Linked DNA regions of Homo sapiens: regions 1, 2, 3, 5 and 6 are each linked to region 4. The links are contacts of gene promoters, found by promoter capture Hi-C in blood cells and fetal thymus (Javierre and others, 2016). All regions are on one chromosome and are shown on one strand. The core of a region is centred on a gene start or on the middle of the fragment in contact, and the rest is flanking DNA. Distances in the headings are between cores, read along the strand shown.

Evidence for each region. Contacts are between HindIII fragments. The CHiCAGO score rates a contact against its expected background, and 5 or more counts as called.
Region 1: a contact is called between a fragment that was not itself captured here and the fragment with the promoter of TPST1 in region 4, in 4 of 17 cell types (total B cells, naive B cells, M1 macrophages and 1 more). The highest score is 9.0, in total B cells.
Region 2: the fragment with the promoter of RABGEF1 here is called in contact with the fragment with the promoter of TPST1 in region 4 in 1 of 17 cell types (naive B cells); the score reaches 5.2 in naive B cells.
Region 3: a contact is called between a fragment that was not itself captured here and the fragment with the promoter of TPST1 in region 4, in 1 of 17 cell types (M1 macrophages). The highest score is 5.2, in M1 macrophages.
Region 5: a fragment that was not itself captured here is called in contact with the fragment with the promoter of TPST1 in region 4 in 1 of 17 cell types (M2 macrophages); the score reaches 6.4 in M2 macrophages.
Region 6: a contact is called between a fragment that was not itself captured here and the fragment with the promoter of TPST1 in region 4, in 1 of 17 cell types (total CD8 T cells). The highest score is 5.8, in total CD8 T cells.

The regions. Positions count from the first base shown.
Region 1 is chr7:67,004,633-67,008,986 of GRCh38, reverse strand. The region is part of intron 3 of TYW1 (tRNA-yW synthesizing protein 1 homolog); the gene reads right to left. Among named protein-coding and RNA genes, the nearest start is that of TYW1, 10 kb to the right of the region's middle. The HindIII fragment of the contact is 175 bases long and covers 1,699-1,873 here.
Region 2 is chr7:66,739,157-66,743,060 of GRCh38, reverse strand. It overlaps RABGEF1 (RAB guanine nucleotide exchange factor 1), which reads right to left and starts at 2,328. Exons shown (of 9, transcript NM_014504.3): 1 at 2,269-2,328. RefSeq lists silencers at 2,105-2,244, 2,265-2,534 and enhancers at 1,985-2,651, 2,665-2,714. The HindIII fragment of the contact is 9,271 bases long and covers 1-3,904 here.
Region 3 is chr7:66,719,129-66,723,145 of GRCh38, reverse strand. It overlaps a transcript of RABGEF1 not described here. Among named protein-coding and RNA genes, the nearest start is that of RABGEF1, 20 kb to the left of the region's middle. The HindIII fragment of the contact is 269 bases long and covers 2,185-2,453 here.
Region 4 is chr7:66,203,963-66,208,143 of GRCh38, reverse strand. TPST1 (tyrosylprotein sulfotransferase 1) reads right to left here and starts at 2,810. Exons shown (of 6, transcript NM_003596.4): 1 at 2,622-2,810. RefSeq lists silencers at 2,408-2,767, 2,918-3,187. The HindIII fragment of the contact is 8,515 bases long and covers 609-4,181 here.
Region 5 is chr7:66,789,322-66,793,374 of GRCh38, reverse strand. All of the region lies in intron 4 of RABGEF1 (RAB guanine nucleotide exchange factor 1), which reads right to left. It also overlaps the pseudogene GRPEL1P2 and the pseudogene LOC124901840. Among named protein-coding and RNA genes, the nearest start is that of RABGEF1, 51 kb to the right of the region's middle. The HindIII fragment of the contact is 3,035 bases long and covers 1-2,784 here.
Region 6 is chr7:66,947,741-66,952,204 of GRCh38, reverse strand. It overlaps TMEM248 (transmembrane protein 248), which reads right to left. Exons shown (of 7, transcript NM_017994.5): 4 at 3,511-3,661; 5 at 1,070-1,253. Among named protein-coding and RNA genes, the nearest start is that of TMEM248, 29 kb to the right of the region's middle. RefSeq lists an enhancer at 604-1,803. The HindIII fragment of the contact is 299 bases long and covers 2,159-2,457 here.

The sequences.
Region 1 (4,354 bases), core at 537-3,036, 800 kb before region 4:
GTGCAAAAAGAAATAGTGAAGAATGGGCTGGGCACAGTGGCTCACACCTGTAATCCCAGTACCTTGGGAGGCCGATGCAGTTGGATCACTTGAGGTCAGGAATGCGAGACCAGCCTGACCAACATGGTAAAACCCCGTCTCTACTAAAAATACAAAATTAGCCAAGCGTGGTGGCACACACCTATAATCCCAGCTACCCGGGAGGCTGAGGCAGGAGAATCACTTGAATCCAGGAGGCGGAGGTTGCAGTGAGCCAAGATTGCACCATTGCACTCCAGTCTGGGCAACAAAACTCCATCTCCAAAATAAATAAATAAATAAAATAAAAGAAAGAGTGAAGAGTGAAAAGAATGGGAAACATGAAAAGAAGCCGGTTGACAGACAGGAAAAAGTCCTAGGGAAGAGTTCACAGGGCTAACAGAACCCCAGAGAAGCTCTAGGCTGGGAGCAGCCACTACAACAAAAGATGGAATGAATATCTTTTGTACGCTAATGAGATGGCTTACTGGAGTGAGGCCTCAGATAGCTTCAGGATGGAGGCTCGTTGCCAGAGAAACTGATGAGAAGTTAAACTCAGCACCTCCTACCCCAGCCCCAACAGGGAACACTAGGGAGAGAAGAGGGGCTGGAGATTGAGTTTAATCACCAAGGCCAATGATTTAATCAATCGTGCCTATGTAATGGAGCCTCCAAGAAAAACCCCTGAACAATGGAGACTGTTGACTTGGTGAACATACCAATGTGCTGGGGAGAAGACACGGCCAGAAACGGCCTGGAAGCCCTGCTCAACCCCCACCCCTCCATAGCTGGCCCTGTGCAGCTCTTCCATTCGGCCGTTCCTGAGTTGCATCCTTTATGATAAACCACTAAACATAAGTCAAGCAACTTCCTGAGGTCTGTGAGTCATCCTATAGAACCTGAGGAGGCAGTGGTGCAGAACCCTAAATTTAAAGCCGGGACTTGTGACTGGTGTCTGAAGTGGGGGCAGTCTTGTGGGCTAATGATAACTCCCAATAGTAAGCATGAGAACTGGTATAGAAAAAGGACAGGTTGGCCAGGCGTGGTGGCTCACACCTGTAATCCCAACACTTTGGGAAGCCGAGGCGGACAGATCACCTGAGGTCAGGAGTTCAAGACCAGCCAGACCAACATGGTGAAACCCCATCTCTACTAAAAATACAAAAATTAGCCAGGAGTGGTGGTGGGCACCTGTAATCCCAGCTACTTGGGAGGCTGAGGGAGGAGAACTGCTTGAATCCAGGAGGCAGAGGTTGCAGTGAGCCGAGATCGTGCCACACTGCACTCCAGCCTGGACGACAGAGCGAGACTCCATCTCAAAAAAAAAGAGAAAAGGTATTTGGGGGTCAGAAAACAGTACTGCAGCAGGCCTCAAGGACTGATACGGTTTGGATATTCGTCCCCTCCAAATATCATTAACACGTAATCTCCAATGTTGGAAGTGAGCTCGAATAGGAGGTGTTTGGGTCATGGGGGTGGGTCCCTCAGGAGTGGCTTTGTTACCAGTGGAGGGTCTTGCCTAGGAGTTGTCCAGGTTGTTCACATGTTCAACAAAGAACTGAAAAAAATGCAACAAGCGAAGCAACAAAAACACAGATTTATTGATGGGAAGGTACACTCTACAGTCAGGAAGCAGGCTTGAGCAAGTGGCTCAAGAGCTCCAGTTGTTTTTATTAAGCTTAGGTTTTTATTAAGCTAGAAGAATTTGGTAACACCCCCAGGTATCCTTGGGAGGCTTCCAATTGGTTACACCCTATATAAATGAAGAATTGGCTCATGGCCAATCAGAGGCTGCAGTGGAGTTATACCATATGCAAATAAAGAATTAGCCCACAGCCCATCAGAGGCTAAAGCTTTCCTTTCAGTTTAATTCAAGGACGTCAGCCACAGGTTGGCCTTAGGCTCTGTCTCCAGACTCTACTTTCCTACCTCAGCTTGCCGCCCTCCCCTTGGTGTTGAGTTCTTGCCCTATTAGTTCATAGATGGCTGTTAAAAAAAAAAAAAAAAAAAAAAAAAAAAAGCCTCACATCTCTCCCTACTGTTTTGCTCCCTCTCTCACCATGTGGTACCTATTCCTCCATGGGTGGAAGCTTCCTGAAGCTTCACCAGAAGCCAAGTGGATGTTGGCACCATGCTTGTAGAGCCTGCAGAACCATGAACCAAATAAACCTCTTTTCTTTATAAATTACAGTATTAGTCCATTCTTGCATTGCTATAAAAAAAATACCTGGCCGGGCATGGTGGCTCATGCCTGTAATCCCAGCTCTTTGGGAGGTCAAGGCGGGCGGATCACTTGAGGTCAGGAGATCGAGACCAGCCTGGGCAACATGGTGAAACCCCATCTCTACCAAAAATACAAAAAATTAGCTGGGCATGGTGGCATATACCTGTGGTCCAGCTACTTGGGAGGCTGAGGTGGAAGGATCGCTTGAGCCTGGGAGGCAGAGGCCGCAGTGAGCCGAGATCACGCCACTGCACTCCAGCCTGGGCAACTGGGTGAGACTCCATCTCAAAAAAAAAAAAAAAAAAAGGAAAAAAGAAATACCTGAGATTGGGCAATTTATAAAAAAAAGACATTTAATTGGCTCACAGTTCTGCAGACTGTACAGGAAGTGTAACGGCATCTGCTTCTGAGGAGGCCTCAGGGAGCTTCCAATATTGGTGGAAGGCAAAGGAGGGGCAGGCACATGACATGGCAGGAACAAGAGAGAGAAGGAGGCAGTGCCACACACTTTTAAACAGCCAGATCTCATGAGAACTCACTGTCACGAGGACAGTACAAGGGAGATGGTGCTAAACCTCTCATGCAAAATCTGCCCTCAAGATCTAAGCACCTCCCGCCAAGCCCCACCTCCAACAATGGGACTACGATCCGACGTAAGATTTGGTGGGGACACAGATCCAAACCATATCAATTACCCAGCTGCAGGTATTCCTTTATGGCAATGCAAAACAGACTAACACAAGGATAAAGTGAGATTTGAGCCAAAGCCAAAGGAACTGGGAGAACCATGAGGTTATCCCAGGCGGCAGGAACAGTGAACTGCAAAGGCCCAGAGGAGGTTACTAAGACTGAAAAAAAAGAAACCAAGGAGATGGGGTAAGAGAGTTAACAAAGAGCCACACGTGTAGGATCTCTGGGCCACTGTGAGGACTCAAGCATTGACTCTTGAATGAAGGGGTCAGTGCAGGGTTTTAAGCAGAGGGATGACGTGACTTCACCTAAGTTTTCAAACAGTCACTGAGGTTGCTGAGTTGAGAGTACACTGGAGTCAGAAGAGGGCCAAGTGGTACTGAATCAGAAACACTGTCTTAGTCCATTTTGCTATAAAGGAGTACCTGAGACTGGGTAATCTATGTCTTTTATTTTTTTGAGACAAGGTCTCACTCTGTCACCCAGGCTGAAGTGCAGTGGCACAGTCACGGCTTACTGCAGCCTTGACCTCCTGGGCTCAAGCAATCGTCCCACCTCAGCCGCCCAAGTAGCTAGGACTACAGGCACATGCCACCATGCCTGGCTAATTTTTGAATTTTTTGTAGAGATAGAGTTTTGCCATGTTGCACAGGTTGGTCTCAAACTCCTGGTCTCAAGTGATCCACCTGCCTTGGCCTCCCAAAGTGCTGGGATTATAGGCGTGAGCCACTGTGCCTAGCCCAATCTATGTTTTAAAAAGGTTTATTTAATGCAGAGAACCCCAGTGAGATATTACGTAAGATGGCCATCCCCAAGACACAAAATCATCAGATTCTCCAGTCGAAATGAAAGAAAAAATGTTAAAGGCAGCTAGAGAGAAGGGGCAGGTCAGCTACATAGGGAATCCCATCAGGGTAACAGTGGACCTTTCAGCAGAAACCCTACAATCCAGAAGAGATTGGGGCCTATATTGAGCATTCTTAAAGAAAAGAAATTTCAAGCAGGGCATGGTGGCTCACATCTGTAATCCCAGCACTTTGGGAGGCCAAGATGGGTGGATCACCTGAGGTCAGGAGTTGGAGACCAGCCTGACCAACATGGTGAAACCCCATCTCTACTAAAAATGCAAAAATCAGCCAGATGTGGTGGCGCACACCTGTAGTCCCAGCTACTCGGGAGGCTGAGGCAGGAGAATCACTTGAACTCGGGAGGCAAAGGTTGCAGTGAGCTGAGATCGCACCACTGCACTCCAGCCTGGGTGACAGAGAAAGACTCTGTCTCAAAAAAGAAAACAAGAAATTTCAACCAAGAATTTCATATCCAGCCAAATTAAGCTTCATAAGCGAAGGAGAAACAAGATCCTTTCAGGCAAACAAATGCTAAGGGAATTTATTACAACCAGACCTGCCTTACAAGAGGTCC
Region 2 (3,904 bases), core at 1,079-3,578, 540 kb before region 4:
TGGGATTACAGGCGTGAGCCACCGCGCCTGGCCAGAGAGACCCATTTTAACCACACAAGGACCCAGCTAAAAAACTTCCCCTGGTTCTGTCACCATCAGAGGAAGCCTGAGCTCCTACATCTCTGTCCTGCACTTTTTCACTTTAGTAACGACCCTCCAGGCTCGGTAGCTGATGCCTGTAATTTCAGCACTTGGGACGCTTGAGGCAGGAAGATTGCTTGAGTGCAGGAGTTTGAGATCAGCCAGGGCAACACAGCAAGACAACATCTTTACAAAATATTTAAAAATCAGCTGGGTGTGGTGGCACGCATCTGCAGTCTTAGCTACTCGGGAGGCTGAGGTGGGAGGATCACTTCAGCACAGGCAGTTGAGACTTCAGTGACTCGTGATCGTGTCACTGTACTCCAGCCTGGGTGACAAAGTGAGACCCTCTCTCTCAATAAATAAATTAATAGGCACCTCCTTGTAGTTACTGGCCTCCTCTCCTTTGATTCCCCCCTCTCCCTCACTCCACCCTGTTAGTCTGAATGTTAGTCATTCTTCAAGACACATGCAGAAAGTATTCCCTGATCCCTTCCAGGCTCCACACCCAACAGCATGGCCTAAATGCCCGGCTCCTTCCTCGGTGCTCCATCTTAGCTCACATTCCTTACCACACTGTTTTGAAAGTATCTTGACTGTCCCTTCTCCTCAACTGGCTAACTTCTAGAGAGCAGAAACATGACTGCTTGGAAGGTCATTAAAAATTCAAATCCTGAACATTTCTTAATCCTGCGGATATGAATCAGTGACTCTTAAAAGCAAAATGTTATTTATCATTAAATATTAACAATATAATCACATTTTCTTGCATCTCTGGCAAGTTTCTTGGTACAACAATTTTAAGGAACAGACTCTTAGTTTTTTTTTTGAGATAGAGTCTAGCTCTGTCGCCCAGGCTGGAGTGCAGTGGCACGATTTCGGCTCACTGCAACCTCCGCCTCCCGGGTTCATGCCATTCTCCTGCCTCAGCCTCCAGAGTAGCTGGGACTACAGGTGCCCGCCACGATGCCCGGCAAATTTTCTTTTTCTTTTTTTTTTTTATTTGTAGTAGAGACGGGGTTTCACCGTGTTAGGGAGGATGGTCTCAAGCTCCTGACGTCATGATCCGCCTGCCTTGGCCTTCCAAATGCTGGGATTACAGACGTGAGCCACCGCACCCGGCCGGAACACACTCTTTAACAGCAGTTAAAGCCGCGCAATGGCTCACGCCTATAATCCCAACACTCTGGGAGGCCGAGGCGGGAGGATCACTTAAGGCCAGGAGTTTCACACCTGCCTGGGCAACACTGTGAGATCCCATGTCGAAAAAAATAATAAATAAAAACAAAGCAGTTCTAGGTTTAGAGGGGGGAAAGCAGCTCTCCAGGCCAAAAACCAACTCCCAAGGTGCTCCGGTAAACTCGTCCTGGGAAAATTTCCTACCTAATCTCAAAGGCAAAACGAGCCCACGGGCGCCCACGACACATTTCCCAACCGCAAGGATTGGTCACCCGCGCTGAGACACCGCCAGCTGCCTATGACCTAGCCTCCAAAGCGGCAGAGTCCCTCCCTCTCTCTCCCTAAACTGCCGTGATGGGCATCCCTCGGCTCTCCTCCCAGACGGTTCGGAAGCAGGGACTTCTGCTCCTAACCCCGGCCCCGCAGCCTCGCCCTCAGCCACGGGGTGGAAGTCAGGACCACAGGCTTCAAATCCCCTCCCAACTCCGGGACACTTCTGCCCCCTAGGGTGACGTGGGATCAAGTCCCCGCGCCCCTGCCGCGGCCGGGGGCTGTGGTCTGGGTCCGAGCGTCCCATACCAGCGCTTTCCGGGGAGGTTGTGGGAGGGGCCCCGTGCGACCACAGACGCTGCTTCGGAGCCAGCGGCCTGGACGGAAGGTGGGAGCCGGGGCGAGGGGAGCCGCCGGAGAGGGAGGCGGCCAGGAAATGCTCCGCGTCAGGCCGTCGGGGCTCGGCTGGCGCTGGAGATCCCGGCAACTAGCGTCTGGGACGGAGAGGCCGCACTCTGAGGATTAAGGGAGCCGAGGGCGGCCTGGAACGGGGAAGGCGGCGCTGACGGAGACGGAATGTGGGACGAAGGACAGCGGGAGGCACCGACGCGCAACTGCCCCAGCCGCGCGGATGGCACGGACCGACCGCCCTGCCACCCCCAGCCCGAGACGCCCCGCCGCCCCGCTCCTGTAGCTGAGAGCCGAGCAGCTCTCAGCCCCAGTCCGTCCGCTCCGTACCTCGCCCGCGTCTCCGCCGGCGTCCAAACCACCGCTCGCCCGCTTCGCCCGGGTAGGTCTGGGCTCCGCGGCCAGCTCCCGCCTCACACCCACCCTCCTGCTCGCCCCGCCCCCGGCACCGCCAGCGAACGCACGTTACGCGCGGCGCGTAAACGTCACTTCCGGGGCCTTTGACTCTGGACGGGAGGAAGTGCGAGTGGATCCAAAGGGTCGAGCGGAGTGGGGTACCGCCCTGACGCCCAAGAGCAAATGGAAGAGGGCGGCCTCCGGGGTAAAGGTGGGGCGCTGGGGAGCCCCGGAGAAACCGGCGTTTCCTAGTCTGTCGCTCAGTCCCTGCTTCCGGCTTCCGACGCGCAACAGCTGGAGGGCGACGCTGGCTCCGCGGCGACTCCTGGGGCTGCGGCCGCGGTGGTAGCGCGAATGGGAGGTGGAGCGGAGCTACTGCGCCGAGGGACGCTTCAGAAACTCTGTTTCAGTCCTTCGCGGATCCTAGGATGTGACAGGTGTTCGAGTTAAAAGGTCTTAAGGCGATCGGTTGATCCAAAAGCAGCTGAATCTTTAGGAGGCCCAGGCAGGAGGATCGCTTGAGTCCAGGAGTTCGAGACCAGCCTGGGCCACAGAGCAAGGTCACCATCTCTACAAAAGAAATTTTACAAATCAGCCGGACATGATGGCGGGCACCTGTGGTCCCAACTACCAGGGAGGCTGAGGTGGGAGGATCGCTTGATAGCCCAGGAAGTTGACGGTGCAGAGATCCCTCCACTGAACTCCAGGCCGGGTGACAGCAGAGCGAGATCCTGTCTCAAAAAAAACATAACCGACATCCAGAAGTGAAATAAATTAGCCAGTGTCACAAAGTATTAATGGTTGAGTCACAAATTGAATCCTGTTTACCTGATTCTTTACGTGATTCCCATGTAAGGAATGTTAAAAACAGTAAATACTAATTCCTCTGCGTCCTGAATGCCATGTATGGCGTAACGTGCAGTCACAGCAAGAAAAAAAAGAAAATACTATGCTGTGGCTGTGAGATAGACCTGGGTTAAAATCCCAGCTTTGCTAATTGTCGCTGTAGTGTTCTTGGACAGGTTGCGTAATTTTTCAGTCTATTTTTTTTTTTTTTTTTTTTTTTTTTGAGACTCTCACTCTGTCGCCCACACTGGAGTTCAGTCGTGCGATCTCGGCTTACTGCAACCTCCGCCTCCTAGGTTCAAGCGATTCTCCCACCTCAGCCACCCAAGTAGCTGGAATTACAGGCACCCGCCACCACGCCCAGCTCATATTTTTTTTTTTGTATTTTTAGTCGAGACAGGGTTTCACCATGTTGGCCAGGCTGGTTTTGAATCCTGACCTCAAGTGATCCGCCCACCTTGGCTTCCCAAAGTGCTAGGATTATAGGTGTGAGCTACTGCGCCCGGCCCGAGTTTCTCAGTCTTTATTCATTATTGGTAAAGTAGGGATTAACTGATTCGTTTCTCAGATTCTTCCTAAGTGCCTAATGTGTGCTACGCTGAGGGTACAACAGAGTATAAAACAAAAGTAAGGCCAGGCGCAGTGGCTCACGCCTGTAATCCTAGCACTTTGGGAAGCCGAGGCGGGCAGATCACCTGAGGTCGGGAGTTCAAGACCAGCCTGA
Region 3 (4,017 bases), core at 1,070-3,569, 520 kb before region 4:
AATACAAAAACTAGCCGGGCGTGGCAGCGCTTGCCTCTAATCCCAGCTACCAGGGAGGCTGAGGTAGGAGAATCGCTTGAACTCAGGAGGTGGAGGTTGCAGTGAGCCAAGATCACGCCATTGCACGCCAGCCTGGGTGACAGAGTGAAACTCCATCTCAAAAAAAAAGAAAAAAAGAAAAGAAACAGTAATTAAAGAAGACCTAAATAAATGGAAAGACATGCTGTGTTTATGGACTGGAAGACTTAATATTGTTAAAATGCCAATAATCCCTAAAATGATGTACAGATTCAGTGTAATCCTTATCAAAATCTCAGCTGCCTGTTGTAGAAAGTGACACGCTGATTCTAAAATTCATACGGAAATGCAGAATTACAAAACAATCTTGAAAAAGAAAAAAATTGGAAGACTCACACTCCTTGACTTTAAAACTTACTACAAACCTGTAATAATGAAAACATCATAGTAGTGATGTTTTATAGACCCAAATATAAAAGCTAAGGCGACAAAACTCTTAGAAGAAAAGGTAAGCATAAATCTTTGTGACCTTGAATTAGGCAATGGTTTTCTTAGATACAACACCTAAAGCACAAGTAATAAAAGAAAAACTTCATAAATTGGAGTTCATCAAAATTTAAAACTTTGTATTTCTTTTTTCCTTTGTTCTTTCTTTGTAAGGACAGGGTTTTTTTGTCTTTTTGTTTTTGACACGGAGTTTTGCTCTGTCATCCAGGCTGGCGTGCAATGGCACAATCTCAGCTCACTGCAACCTCCGTCTACTAGGTTCAAGTGATTCTCCTGCCTCAGCCTCCTGAGTAGCTGGGATTACAGGCGCGCACCACCACGCCTGGCTAATTTTTGTATTTTTAGTAAAGGTGGGGTTTCACCATGTTGGCCAGGCTGGTCTCGAACTCTTGACCTCATGACCCACCCACCACAGCCCCCCAGAGTGCTGGGATTACAGGCGTGAGCCACCGTACCCAGCCCCTGAGACAGGGTCCTATTCTGTTGCCCAGGATGAAGTGCAGTGAAACAATCATGGCTCCCTGAAACCTTGAACTCCTGGGCTCAAGTGATCTTCCTGCCTAGCTGGGACATCATCAGGTATATTGGCATGTGCTACCATGCCCAGCTAATTTTTTTGATTTTTTGAAAAGACGGAGGGGGGGTCTCACTATATTGTCCAGGCTGGTCTTGAACTACTGACCTCAAAGTGATCCTCCCACCTCAGCCTACCAAAGCACTGGGATTACAGGCATAAGCCACCCCACTTGGCCAAAAACTTTCTGTTTCAAAGCACCAAGGAAGTAAAAAGACAAACCACCTAAATTTGTGTTTTGAGTAGAGACGGGGTTCTACCACGTTGGCCAAGCTGGTCTCAAACTGCCAAGCTCAAGAGATCTGCCCGCCTTGGCCTCCCAAAGTGCTGGGATTAGAGTCGTGAGCCACTGGACCCAGCCTAAATTAAGGATCTTGAGGTGGAGAAATTATCCTGGATTATCTGGATAGGTCCCACTGCAAAGTTTCTCATAAGGGGGGAGGCAGGAGGGTCAGAGTCAGAAAAAGAGATGTGATAATGGAAGCAGAGATAAGTGCCAGAGCAAAGGGGGTGGAATTTGATGATGCTGCACTGTTGCATTTAATGATGGAGGAAGAGGCCATGAGCCAAGGAACTCAGGCAGCACCTAGAAGTGAAAAAAGGCAAGCATCTCCCCCAAGAGCCTCCAGAAGGCGAATCTGTGACATCTTGATTTCAGACAGACTGACTTTGGACTTCTGACTTCCAGGACTGTATGGCAATAAATTTGTATTAAGTCACTATATGGCATATGTTAGAGTAGCAGTAAGACACTAATATACATGTCTCTTATTAAATTTATTCCTAGGTATTTTGATTTTTAAACACTATTATTAATGGCTTTCTTTTGGCCGGGCACAGTGGCTCATGCCTGTAATCCCAGCACTTTGGGAGGCCGAGGCCGGCAGATCACTTGAGCTCGGGAGTTCGAGAGCAGCCTGGCCAACCTGGTGAAACCCCATCCCTACTAAATATACAAAAATTAGCCGGGCGTGGTGACGTGCGCCTGTGATCCTAGCTACTCTGGAGGTTTCAGGCAGGAGAATCACTTGAACCTGGGAAGTGGAGGTTGCAGTGAGCTAAGATTGTGCCACTGCACTCAAGCTTGGGCGACAGAGTAAGACTCTGTCTCAAATAACAACAATAATAATAATAATGGCTTTGTTTTTAAAATTTCAGTTCCCATTGTTTGAGCTAGCATATGGAAATTCAATTGACACTTGGTTCTGCTAACTTATTAGTTCTAGTAGCTTATTTCATATCTCCTGGGACTTTCTATACAGATGATCATGTTGTCTGCAATAAGAACAGTGTTACTTCCTCCTTTCCAGTTGGTATGTCTTTTACTTTTTCTTCTTTTATTATTGCACAAGCTTGAACCTCTAGTACTATGCTAAATGCAAGCAGCAAGAGTGGACATGCTTGCCTTGTTTCTAATCTTAGGGAGAAACAATTCATACTTTATCCATTAAAATATTAGCTTTAAGTTTTTGTAGCTGTATTTTTTCTGGTTGAGATAGTTCCCTTTTATATTTAGTTTGCTGATTTTTTTTTTTTTTAATTATCAGTGGGGTGGGCACAGTAGCTCGTGCCTGTAATCCTAGCACTTTAGGAGGCTGAGGTGAGTGGATCGCTTGAGGCTAGGAGTTCGAGACCAGCCTGGCCAACATGGCGAAACCCCGTCTCTACTAAAAATACAAAAATTAGTTGGGCGTGGTGGTGCATGCCTGTAGTCCTAGCTACTGGGGTGGCTGAGGCACGAGAATTTCTTGAGCCTGGGAGGCAGAGGTTACAGTGAGCCGAGATCGCGCCACTGCACTCCAACCCGGGCAATGGAACAAGACTCACCCTCTCAAAGAAAAAAAAAAAAAAATAATAATAATAATAATAATAATAATGAATGGATGTTGAATGTTGTCAAATGCTTCTTTTCTGCAAGTATTGAGATGATCCTGCCATTTTAAACCTTTCTTCTGTTAATATATTGCATTACATTGACTTATTTTTGTTTTTGTTGTTAAAGCAACATTGTATTTCTGGGACGCATTTCACTTGATCTTGATATTTTATCTCTTTTATTTATTGGGTTTGATTTGCTAATCTTTCTAAAGCATTTTTGCATCTTTTTCCATGAAGACTGCTGGTCCACATCAGGGACCAGCAAACCTTGTTCTGTAAAGTCAGTAAATATGTGAGGCTTTGCAGGCCATATAACTTCTGCTATAACTACTCAACCCTACTACTGTAACAGGAAAACAGGAAAAGACAGTATGTAATTTAATAAATGTGGCTATGTTTCAATAAAACTTTATCTACAGAAACAAATCATAGTCTGGTTTGGCCCCACAAGCCATGGTTTGCTGACTCCTGGTCTATTTGTTAGGTGTTTGGTTTTGGTATCAGAGTTAACACTGGCCTCATAAAATTACTTGGGAAGTATTGTCTTCTATGTTTTCTAAAAGTTTTTGTGGGATTCATATTACTCCCTCCTTAATTATTTGAAAGGATTTACCAGTCAAGCCATCTGGATCTGAAATTTTTATCAGAAAGATTTACATAAAAAAAATTTTGGCCAGGCATGGTGGCTCATGCCTGTAATCCCAGCACACTGCGGGGGGCCGAGGTGCTTGAGGCCAGGAGTTTGAAACTAGCCTAGGCAACATAGCAAGACCCCATCTCTACAAAATATATATAAAAATTAGCTGGGCTTGGTGGCGTGCACCTATGGTTCCCAACTACTCAGGAGGCTAAGATGGTAAACCAGGTACAGACAGAAGGAGCTCTAAGAGAAGCTCTCCATTTGTGGTTCAGACTGCGAAAGGAGGCCCCTACAGGTCAGGAAGAATGGAGACAGCCCCAGTTTGTTTTTTGTGATGTTGTTTTTGTTGGTTGGTTGGTTTTTGGTGTTAATTGCCGTTCCCTACTGTCCCAGCTTCTAG
Region 4 (4,181 bases), core at 1,561-4,060:
ATGAGAATTTTTAAAGAAAACAAGCAGCATGATCAGATTGATAGTTCAGAAATGGAACCAATTCCAGCAGCAACGTGGAGGATTAAGTAGACTACAGGACCCAGAGGTTCAGAAAAAGCATAACCAAGGTCTGAACCAGTCTTCTGGCAATGAAGAGAGAGAAAAAAAAAAGATGTTATGAAGAGAGGAAAAAAAAAGATCTGAGGTAGCAACAACAATAGGATCTATGCTAGACTTAATGTGAGGAGAAAAGAAGATGATTTTAAGGTTTCTAGAGTAAAGATCTTAAAATAGTAATGTTTGTATATGTGCTTAAAGGGGGCTATGGGTGGAGAGAAAGGGAAGGAAAAGGTAACCACATTTGAAGTAATCAAGCATCCACATACAGCTATGCAGTAGGCAGATGAAAATTAGAACCTGAGGTTCAAGAGAAACGGGGACTAAATAGACGTCTTTGAAAACCATAAATATATAGGTGCTATTTGAAGCCATGAAAGGAAGTGTAATCACACAAGGAAATTAGAGAAAAGAACAAAAATGAAACCCTAAGGAATGCCACGTTAATCTGAGAAGAATAAAAAAAGAAAAGGGAAGCATCAAGAAAAGCTTTGTTTTGGTCTGAATGGTGGAAACCTGAGGATGTATACCATCCAACAGAAAAAATAATAATATGGGAAGAGATCAAAGACGTTAGCTTTCGAAAGTAAGACCCCTCTTCTTCTGAGATCAGAGGAAAGGATATTAGAAATCAGGTACAGACAGGCACAGACAAAAATGACCTCTCCTTAAGAGTTCAGGGCTGATGCCCACCAATTTATTCTGTGAAGTTAAGTGGCAAAATAAGCAATGAAGAGAAGGCAAGAGTAGGACAAAGAGTCAGAGAAAAATGGTAAAGATCCATAAACAGCCATTTAGATTTTAGGACATAAGAGGAATCTAGAGGTTAAGTCAAAGGATCTCCAGGATCCAGAAGTGCAGAAACAGCACCCAGCAGTTTAGTTATATGATTTTTGCCAGTCTGCCTTGGGAGCCCAGGAGCAGAAAAAGCTGACTGATTCGTCCAGGCTTGAGACCATCAGAGCAAAGGTGGCAAGAATAGTACAGGGCCAATGACAATGCTTTTATCATTTTAAAAAGTCAAACGTATTTTACTCTTTTTTAAAAATCGACTCGCTATTTCCTCCAAGAGCGAGTGTTTGGAGAGGGGGAGGGAGAGGGGTGGATAATTCCTCTCTCACTCTTAGAGGACTTGTCAGAAGTTTCATTCTTAAGCATATTTGGTCTGTACAGCAGCTGATTCCAGGAAATCCAAATCCTGATTCCTCCTGGATCTTAAAAGATGAAAATTCATTGCAGCTCCCTGGACTATCCAGCTAATAGATAAACACGTACCACATTGCTTATATACTATGCCACTTTAGCTGGGAGGTAGGGGCTCTTTCTTTCCTAAAAAGAAAGTTACCCAAACACTGCAGATGGGGATGGAGAGGGGATGGGGAGTAATTACACCGCAAAGCCTGCTGACTAGCAGCCTAAGAATCCTTTACAAAGGCAATTAACATAAAACAATACATGGCACGGATAGCAGAATTGTTTCTTCTTAATGAATGCAGTAATTGACCATTTAATCGCTTTACTGGAGTTCACCAATTTCTCCTGCCATCTCCCATACCATTCTTCAGGCAGAGTCAAATCCCTGTGGACACTGGACTTCTTGCTACCATCATCTGGAAAGTACAAAACGCCTGGAAGGAGGAAGAGGCTAACATGCGTGACCACCCACCATGTGCCAGGCCTACTGTGTGCTAGACTCTGGGCAAGGGACTTTACATGTTATGGGGTGCAGCTCATGTAAGGACGAATGAAGATATTACACTATGGATCTGAGCCAGGCGCAGTGGCTCACGCCTGTAATCCCAGCACTTTGGAGGCCGAGGCAGAAGGATAGCTTGAGGTCAGGAGTTCGAAGCCAGCCTGGGCAACATAGAGACTCCATCTCTCAAAAAAAAAAAAAAAAAAAGCGATGAATCCGGCATTGCAGAGAGTGGGAAAGTGTCTGGAGGTTTAAGAGTAAGAGAAGGAAGAGGAGATTGCGATGGTGGGTGGTCAAAGTGAGGGGAGAAGAGGCGAGTTGGGAAAGGAAGGTGCTTAGGAGCAAAAGGGCAAGACCCAGGGACACCTGGAGCGGGGCGGGCGACTGCCATGCAGACAGGACTACGTACAACGGGTAGGATGATGGGGCGATGAGCTCAAGAAGCGCAGCCGGGGTAGACGTGGGGGCAAATGTCCGATCCCGGCGAGACGAGGGTCTCATCCCAGGGGACTGCGGGGCTAGGACGTGGTCCCAGGGCTGCGAGAAGGGAGAGAAAGGGCAGAGGGGAGAGGCCCCGGCGGCCGGGGCGAAGCCGAGCCCGGGAAATGCCGGCGATGGGGGAAGGGGCGTGGGAGCAGGGGCCGGACGGGCCAGACCCGGGGCTCCGCGCTCGGGGGCGGGGTTGGACAACCGGGAGGCACCGAGCAGAAGGCGACAAGGGGCCAAGGGATGCCAGGACGGGGCACAGGGCCGGGTGTGAGGAGACGAGAGGGGAGCGGAGCCGCAGCGAGCGCCGCGTCCCCCTTACCTGGGATGAGTGAGGAGCCGCCGCGCCGCCTGGACGGCATCCTGGCCTCAGCCGCTGGTCCCACCGCCTTCGGTGGGGGGCCACTCGGGAGCCCGCCCTCACCGCCAAGCGCCGGCAGCTGCCAGCCTGGACCGGCCCCGCAGAGCAGCGCCGTTCCGACCCGCAACCGAAGCCGCCTCAGCAGCGTCTCCCGCGGTCGCCAACTCAGCGACAACCGCCAGGGTCCGGGGAGGTGGCGGGATCACACATCTGCTACGATTGGCTGAGCGGACGATGTGTCGGCTGCTCTGATTCGTGAGTTCCGGCCGGCTGCCCACCGAAGGAGGCGCGGCTGGGAATGGAGCTGGGTCCGGCAGGCGCCGAGGGGCGGGGGTCTGACGTCGCAGCCGGCCAGCGCCCCCACAGCCCTTCCCGTGCGCGCTCCCGAGGGGGCTTCCCGGCAGCCGCAGGCCTGGCCGGGTGGTTGCCCTAGCAACAGCGCGCGTGGCCTGGCTGCAGGGGAGCCGCGGGCAGGTGGCGGTCCTCACCGCCCCCACCCCCAACGTGGGTGTCCCAGAGGCCTTCATCAGTGAAACCCTAGGACAGGAGAAGAAAATGAGCTTTTCCTGATAATTCCTCTCCTCTGCTTCAGAGCCCACCTTTGCCCGCTGCTGGCAGAGAAGCTGTCATCTCCTCGGGGAGATAACGCGCAAATGCAAATAACGAACTCAAACACTATTTCATCCCCACGAGAGTGTAGACGTGCAATAGTCCCTCCCAACCACAGAGGTGGGGGGCTGACGCCCTAAAAGAAAGAAATGAAAACTAGGGAGAAAAAGGCAAAGAAGCAAAAGAAAGGTGGGGAAAGGGCAGATATTTCACAAAATGATCCATTCATTTTACAGTTTCTTCCTACAGACACATCTACACCAGGTTCTGTCAAAGCAATTATTTCTACTCCAGTGACATGGATTAGAGAAGGCATGAGTGCAGAATCTAACAGCTGTATTCAAAATTGCTCTCTGCTAGGCCAGGTGGGGTGGCTCATGCCTCTAATCACAGCACTTTGGGAAGCCAAAGCTGGTGAATCACCTGAGGTCAGGAGTTCGAGACCAGCCTGGCCAACATAGTGAAACCCCGTCCCTGCTAAAAATACAAAAATTAGCCGGGCATGGTGGCGGACGCCTGTCGTCCCAGCTACTGGGGAGGCTGTGGCAGGAGAATTGCTTGAACCCGGGAAGGTAACTACCTTCCTTTGCACACAGTATAATATTTTCAAAGTTCATCCATGTTGTAGCATGTATCGGCACTTCATTCCTTGTTACGGCCGAATAATAGTCCATTATACAGACATCACCTTTTTTTTTTTTGAAGAGTCTCACTCTGTCTCCCAGGCTGGAGTGGAGTTATGTGATCTTGGCTCACTGCAACCTCCACCTCCTGGGCTCAAGTGATTCTCATGCCTCCGCCTCCAAAGTAGCTAGAATTACATGCATGTGCCACCATGCCTGGCTAATTTTTATATTTTTAGTAGAGACGGGGTTTCATCAAGTTGCCCAGGCTGATCTTGAACTCCTGGCC
Region 5 (4,053 bases), core at 18-2,517, 590 kb before region 4:
CAAAACTGTTACATGCACAAAACTGCTTAAAATGTGGTATAAAATTACCTTCAGGCTATGTATGTAAGGCATATATTCAACAAATGAATTCTGTGTTTGGACTTGGGTCCCAGTCCCAAGTTATCTTATATATGTGTAAATATTCCAAAATCTGGGAAAACCCCAAAATCTGAAACACTTCTGGTCCCAAGGCTCTCGGATAAGGGATACTCAACCTGTAGTGCTCGCTTCCAACTAGAAACTCTCTGAGCTCCTTTTAGAGACCCGAGAGGCCTGTCTTACTGGTGTCAAGGGATCATATTCTCCTCCCCCAGCCCAGCACAACCCCTGTAATTTTACAATACAATGCCGAAAACTCCTTTTCTATTTCTACTGCAGTTTATGCTCCAGTACAGTATTGCTTTCATAATGTAAAAGAACTCACCCCTGCCACTGTCTCTCATCCTGCTTTCCATTCTTGTAGGACTTAACACTATGTTACAGATCTGCTTATTGTCCATTTCCCCAACTAAAATGTTAGCTCCACAAGGGCACTGTTCACCACCATATCCTCATGCCTAGAACAAGGCCAGGCACAGGGTTAGTGCTCAGTATGGGTTGAATGAATAAATGTGGCCATTTATTACCATTCCTCCCTTTATAAGATGCTGAAGACAATTCTCCATAGATCTCTTTCTACCTATCTGTGAGCAAAGGCAATGACTGCCTTTGTTTTGCAACATCTTTTCAAGGATTTCTTTATAGAAAACAGCTTTAGGAGACAGAGATAGTGCCTCCTTCAAGAGAAAAGGGTAGACTGCTTACTGTCTAATAAGGATCCCTAAATCCAAGGTTCCTCTCCTCTAATACAACTCACTGCATGCACAGGCTTTCCCTGGTCTTCTCTGCATTATCCTATAGGAACAGATACTCGGGGATAAGCACAAATGCAAATGCTCTGGCTACTGCTACTGCTGTAAGAAACTGGCCTTTGTCTCTGACCCAGGAGACTCGTGTCTTTGGCCAGTATCTGTGAAACCATGGCAGGTTAATTTGTTAGCCTGCAAATAAGGTAACTCTCAGGCCCCTCACAGTGTTTGCCAAAGGGGCAAAGTGAGGGCAGGTTTGTGTTGGTAAGTTCTTTTAGGCTCTACAAAACTCCAAAAGGTTTGTCATAATTTTCCAAGAAAAAAAGATAGTAGAGCAGTGAGTAAATCCTTTACCTCAAGTACTCTCTAATCATTGTACGGGATCATCTTTTCTATAATCTTTTTTTTTTTTTTTTGAGATGGAGTCTCGCTCTGTCGCCAGGCTGCAGTGCAGTGGCGTGATCTCAGTTCACTGCAACCTACGCCTCCCAGGTTCAAGCAATTCTCCTGCCTCAGCCTCCCGAGTAGCTGGGACTACAGGCATGTGCCACCACGCCCAGCTAATTTTTTTATTTCTAGTAGAGACAGGGTTTCACCATCTTGGCCAGGCTGGTCTTGACCTCCTGACCTCGTGATCCATCCTCCTCGGCCTCCTAAAGAGCTGGGATTACAGGCGTGAGCCACCGCACCTGGCATCTTTTCTATAACATCTGAGTAAAGTTGTCGTTTTATTTTTCTAAAATAAATTTTTACTCTGTGATTAAGACATTGACAAGTGGATGTCTATCTTTGAACATTATGCTGAGAGGCACTCTATACACTTTCTTAACAGTCTGGCTGAGATCTTTGTTTCCACTTCCAGTTTTGAAAACCTTTGACTATTTTCCTTGCCTATGTTTTCTGTGTATTTCATCCAGAACTTCCATCATTTCAATGTGAATTGCCACATTCTATTTTATGGGTTCATTAAGTTTTGTCTGTACTGCTGTTAACTGCTTAATCTATTTAGGTATTAGCTTTCATGTCCATATTTTTTTGTATTACCAATTTGTGCTGCCTTCAATAATTTTTTAAAGGAAAAGAACCATATGAGGGCTTTAATCCTCTTTAAAAATGAAACACACATTTAAAGTGTGCCAAGCATGCAGTCCTCATATTCTGAGAAAGTCCATCTCACCAGGGAGTATATCTTGAGGTCATTAGTAACTAGTAGAATACAGACTTAAACATTTCCACATTTAGATGAAGAAAACAGGGCAAAACTAACTGTGTCAAATTCAATTACTGGCAAAATAAAGGTGATGGGAACCGTTAAGATACATATGCTCATTTTGCATCTCCAAAAACAAACAAAAAAGCCAGAAATCCGTCATTTTTAGCAGCTAGACAGTGTCTAAGGAACGCATATGTTCTTCATAAAGGTCATCATGAAATTATTTTTAGCGTAAGAAATGTTTCAACCCTTGCTTTCCCTTTATTGAATGAAATGTGTAGTGGGCTAAGAAATCCAGTAACTCCCATGTTACAAGTTGCACAAGAGACACACAGTGCAGACAGAAGGGTCCAGATTGCCAAAAAGCAGAATTCCCAAAGACATTTTGTTCATTTAAAATACTTTGATGTCACTAGAGTCTGAGCAGATACAGCGTGATTCATGAACTCTAGAAGACCTGTAGTGTCCTATTGGCCTTTTTTACTAAGTAAGTGGAATTATTAAACATGCGGTACTAAAAATCAGAGAACACATTCCTGAATAGGAGTTCATTAATGCAACTGTGAGATCAGCTTACTTTTCTGTTTACCTACTGGTTACTTCTGCTTTCCAACAGCCTTAGGGAAAGTCAAAAGTATTTAGATGAAAAAACATCAACCAGCTTTTCATGAACTACGGCAAGTGATTTAAAGAAAAGAAAATCTTGTAAGAGGCAGCTAAGCTTCCTTCACCTCATCAACAAGGGCGGCGCTAAGGGGCTGCCCATGCTTGAACCTCACTTTTGTAACTAGAACCACTGGGCTCAGCTCTTTCCCCTAAACCAGCATGTGGAACAAGACCTCATGCTAGATCTTCCTGTAGTTCATAAGTGTGATGACTGGGTTTTCACGCTGGGTTTTCATGTGTGAGATATGCCTCCCTCAAACCTTGTTACAACACTGGCACATTGCCTGTCGCATGTGAAGAAAGACGAAAAAAAGACCTCATGCGCATAAGGGTGGAACTTGGCTCTGACAGGGTTCAGCTTGGCAGTGCTTGCTGAACACTTCCTGAATCTGGACTCCACTCATTGTTGAGAGTTTCACAGAGGTTCTTCAGGTGAGGGTTATTGTCTTTAATTTCTTCTTCTGGAACACACTGTGTTGCCTTCTCCAAAACATCTGCAACCTCTAACGAGTCCTTGCAGAAGCCCTGAATGCTATACATATTTGCCTCCTCCACCAATTTTTGGCTGATCTGCTGCAAGTCCTCAGTATCTGCCAATGCTTGCTTATCTTCTTCTACAGCCTCCTTCAGCTGCTCTTCTAACTTGACTTCTTCCATGAGTATCTTGTCCGTAGAGGGAGTATCTGTCCTCCATTTGGTTTGGATCCACATCCTCTTCCAAGTGCTGGCAACTGTTCTTTTGTTTTGTAGCTGTGTGCAGAACTGAGAAGGCTGGGAGACAATGCCAACACCAGGAGACTGCATGGCACCAGCCTCACGCATGGAGCCACCACGGCTGCCCCAGGATGATGATTTAAGTTTCCCCTCGCCTATCACTATGTGCTTCTATGAAACATTTTTAATTATTTTTACTCACTCAACATAATTATCAAATACATCTTTTTTTTTTTTTTTTTTTTTTTTTTGAGATAGAGTCTCGCTCCGATGCTGAGGCTGGAGTGCAGTGGCGTGATCTAGGCTCACTGCAAGCTCCGCCTCCCGGGTTCACGCCATTCTCCTGCCTCAACCTCCCAAGCAGCTGGGACTACAGGTGCTCGCCACCACACCTGGCTAATTTTTTGTATTTTTTAGTAGAGACGGGGTTTCACCGTGTTAGCCAGGATGGTCTCGATCTCCTGACCTTGTGATCCGCCCATCTCAGCCTCCCAAAGTGCTGGGATTACAGGCGTAAGCCACCGCACCCGGCCTCAAATACATCTTTTATCTACTTTTTTTCCTTATGACTTATAGATGCTGAGAGCTCAGAGCTATTTCCACTGCCTCACT
Region 6 (4,464 bases), core at 1,059-3,558, 740 kb before region 4:
CTACTTAGAATCACTTCAATCCAGGAGGCAGAGGTTGCAACGAACCGAGATTGTGCCACTGCACTCCAGCCTGGGTGACAGAGAAAGACTCAATCTCAAAAAATAAAAATAAAAAAAAATTAAAATAAAGAAAAAAAGAAAAGGGCAAAGGGCCAGGCCAAAAGAAGAGAGATCCAGCTAACACACACTGCCAGAAAGGAACATATTTATAAAATATCAAAGCAGTGTTAAAAAGTGGGCTTGGGCCAGGTGCAGCGGCTCATACCTGTCATCCCAGAAACTTTGGAGGCCAAGGCAGGAGGATCGCTTGAGACCAGGGGTTCAAGACCAGCCTGGGCAACACAGCAAGACCCCCGTCTCTACAAAAAGTTTAAAAATTATCCCGGCATGGTGACATGCACCTGTAGTCCCAGCCACTTGGGAAGCTTGAGCCCAGGAGGCTGAAGCTGCAGTGAGCTATGATTGCGCCACTAGACCCCAATCTGGGCGACAGAGCAAGATCCTGTCTCTAAAAAAGTAAGTGGGCTCAAGTCTAAGTAGGAAGCTGAGCTAGCAGCACACAGCTACTAGATGAGATAGGTAAGTATTTTGTTCCCCTTGCCTCTTGGTTAAGTTAAATCCTATTCAGGCCTCACTCTCTAGCCGAAGATTCATCTCCTCCTACTACTCCCTTCTATCTTTCAGAACTCTAAGCAGCACTATTTCTTGTTCACACGGACACTAACTAGATAGTCTTCTATGAACGTCTGTGAACATCCCTCTAAGATAATATTAATAGAAGGATCCCTTGTAACCCCCCCCAGGGATTAGGCAGTTGCTCAAGAAATAACTGCTGCTGAACAACAGAGAAAATGAAGAGAAAAACCAGATTTTTCTTAACCAATGGGTAACATGTTTTTCCAAGCATCCACCACTCCGCCTAGTGTCCTAACTCACCTGGAAATCTAAAGTGGCAGAGGATACGCTTACCCAGGGAAGTCAGCAGGGCCTACACCAACGGTTGCAGCACATGCGCACACATGTGCATATGCATGCACGCACACACACACACACAATTTTTCTCACTTACATCTGGAACAATCACTGTAAGCTTGGGATTTAAAGCATGATAGACTTTTCCAATGGCCCCCTTATAACACCAGAAAGGATTGTAATCTTGGGCGTATTTTGTGTTGGCATCTCTGGCAGTTGTGAAGATCTTGTACCAGAGCGTGGCGTTGCTGTACGTGTCAGGAACACAGTGCGGTGGCTGTCTGCAGGAGAAGAGGAGGAGGAAAGACACGTGCTCAGTGGCCTGAGTCATTCACTTGTGTCACCCCCACAGCAGCTGGTAAAACACTGAACACGGCAACACACATGGAAAGGAAAAATGTAACTTACACGTTCATGCTTCTTTGAGATAAATACCATTATATTTTAGTTTGAGGGTCTTTTTTAAAAAATAAAAATATAACAGAAAAATAAATAGGTGCCTGACATTTAGGAGTTTGGGTGTTGGATTTTTGCCTTCAGAATTCAGCCTACAGTCCTCTCACATGTGATGCAAAGCACATAAGCTCCTTTTAAGCCTATCTTCTCAAATGAGCTAAACTCTTAGTATATTAGTCCTTTCTCATGCTGCTGATAAAGACATACCCGGGACTGGGTTATTTATAAAGGAAACAGGCTTAATTGACTCACAGTTCAGCATGGTCAGGGAAGCCTCAGGAAACTTACAAGCATGGCGGAAGTGGAAGCAAACACATCCTTCTTCACATGGCGGCAGCAAAGAGAAGTGCCAAATAAAAGGTGGAAAACCCCTTATAAAACCATCATATCTCATGGGAACTCTCTTACTATGAGAACAGCAGCATGGGGGTAACAATCTCCAGGATTCAATTACCTCCCACTGGGTCCCTCCCATGACACATGAGGATTATGGGAACTACAATTCAAAACGAGATTTGGGTGGGGAGACAGCCAAACTATATCATCTTTTTTTTTTTTTTTGAGACGGAGTCTTGCTCTGTTGCCCAGGCCGGTGTGACCTCGGCTCACTGAAACCTCCACCTCCCATGTTGAACTGATTCTCCTGCCTCAGCCTCTCAAGTAGCTGGGATTACAGGTGTGAGCCATTGCGCCCAGCCCAAAGCATATCACTTAGTTACAACTGGAAGCTTTACCTACAAAATTCTATATCAGTCACTGCAACACAAAGTAATGTTTAACTTAATCTGATCTTGTCCTACAAACCTCCAAATGTCTAAAATAGACAAATCCTGAGATAATTCTTATTTAAAAAGGATTCACCATAGAATTATTTTAAATAGGCTATATCTTATGTATTTCACCTATTTATTTATAGATAATTATCTCCTTTATAGAGACAGGAGAGACCAAAAAAAACCAACAACAAAAAAAACCTAAAATGCAAAGCAGTAACACTGAATGCTGCTCAAAAACACTGAAGGAAAAGCTTCAAAAACCTTAATTGTTTAATGGAAAATAAAGTTCAATTTATATTTGATTTTAAAACTAATTTTCAAATTCGCAGGTAAAATTAAAGTAACTGTTTAATGGGAAATGATTTAAAATGTTAGATTTTAAAATTAGTTAATTAACAGAAAATAAGTTTTGATTTATACTTGATTTAAAACTAAAATCAAGATAAACTAAAATCAACGATTTTAAAATATCTTTCTGGATAATGGAGATGAACAAAACCTTTATCTTTGTTTTATTTGATTTATTTATTTTTTTGAGACAGAGTCTTGCTGTTGCCCAGGCTGAAGTGCAGTGGCGCGATCTCAGCTCACTGCAACCTCTGCCTCCCTGCTTTAGCCTCTGAGTAGCTGGGATTACAGACATGTGCCATCATGCCTGGCTAATTTTTATATTTTTAGTAGAGATGGGGTTTCACTATGTTGGCCAGGCTGGTCTTGAACTCCTGACCTCAGGTGATCTGCCCACCTTGGCCTCCCAAAGTGCTGGGATTATAGGCATGAGACACCGCACCTGGCTGAAAACCTTTATCTTTAGAGAGCCTCTTTTCTTTTTTCTTTTTCTTTCTTTTTTTTTTTTTTTAAATAGAGACAGGGTCTCCCTATATGTTGTCCAGGCTGGTCTTGAACTCCGGGGCTCAAGTGATCCTCCCACCTCAGCCTTCCACAGTGCTGGGATCGCAGGCCTGAGCCACGGCACCCGGCCACAGTGAGCCTCTTTTCTGTAACTTGCTGCTTCTACTCCTGCGGGAAAGACAGCCTATGAATGTCCAACAACAGCCAGGTGCTTTTACTGCCTCGAGGGGGCACTAACTTTCTGATTTTATATGCAGAAGTTCTATCTTTAGAATTCCAAATTAAATAATCCTTTAGACAAATTAAATAATCCTTTAGATAGGTCCGAGTAGAGATAATTCTATAAAGAAATGTGAAGTGAGCCATCCTGAGAATTTACAGCTGAAGCAGCCCAGCCGTACTCACGGCAAGTGGAGCTTGTTACGCACGTTCATCAGGTGCCGGGTACACTTACACAGTGACGGGGAACACCCCAGGGCTGGCCGTGAGGGTCATGCAGGCTGTGAATACCACCTGCTCACAGTGACCGTGGAGGGCGCAGTCATCTGAGCTCCACGCTGTAGGCAGGGTGAAGGTGATGTTTATCTCCTCGTGGGCTTCCCTGCCTATGAAAGAGAAATCATTTTTTTATAAAGTCAAGAACCACGTACTTGTCATTCTCTGGGATACAAATAAATCCTGAAATCAAACCCACACAGGAATCATCTATCAGCCCAGGCACCTGCCTTTGTGGGATCTGAGGAAGAAGAGCAGTCCTGACCCTGACCATGAGTCCTACTCAACTCAGAGCCACGAAGCAGCGAAGGAAGTGGCCACTTTCCAGTACATGGCCTGGAGATGCCAAACCAGACCTCGGGCAGATCAGAGATGAAAAGCTCGGGCTGGGTGAATTATCCCCAGCATTTCTGCACAGCTGTCTAGCCATTTTCAAACATCTTTTATATGTATTATTTCACTTAAAATTTACTACTCTCCCATGAACATGACTGAAGAAGTGCAGCTGTTCCCCTTTTACATATGAACAAACAGAGGTCAGAGGGTTTCAGAGTTAAGAAAGGCAAGTGATGAAGCTTAAACTAAAACCAACGTATTGCCAGGCACAGTGGTTCACATCTGTAGTCCCAGCACTTTGACTTTAGAAGGCTGAGGCAGGAGGATTGCTTGAGGCCGGGAATTCACGACCAGCCTGAACATGACAGCAAGATTCTGTCTCTACAAAAAAGTTTTAAAAATCAGCCAGGTGTACTGGTGCACACCTGTGGTCCCAGGTACTAGGGAGGATCACTTGAGCCCAGGAGTTTGAGGCTGCAGTGAGCTATGATCACACCACTGCACTCTAGCCTGGCGACAGATCAAGACCCAGTCTCAAAATTAAAATAAAATTTTAAATAAAAATTAAATTAAAATA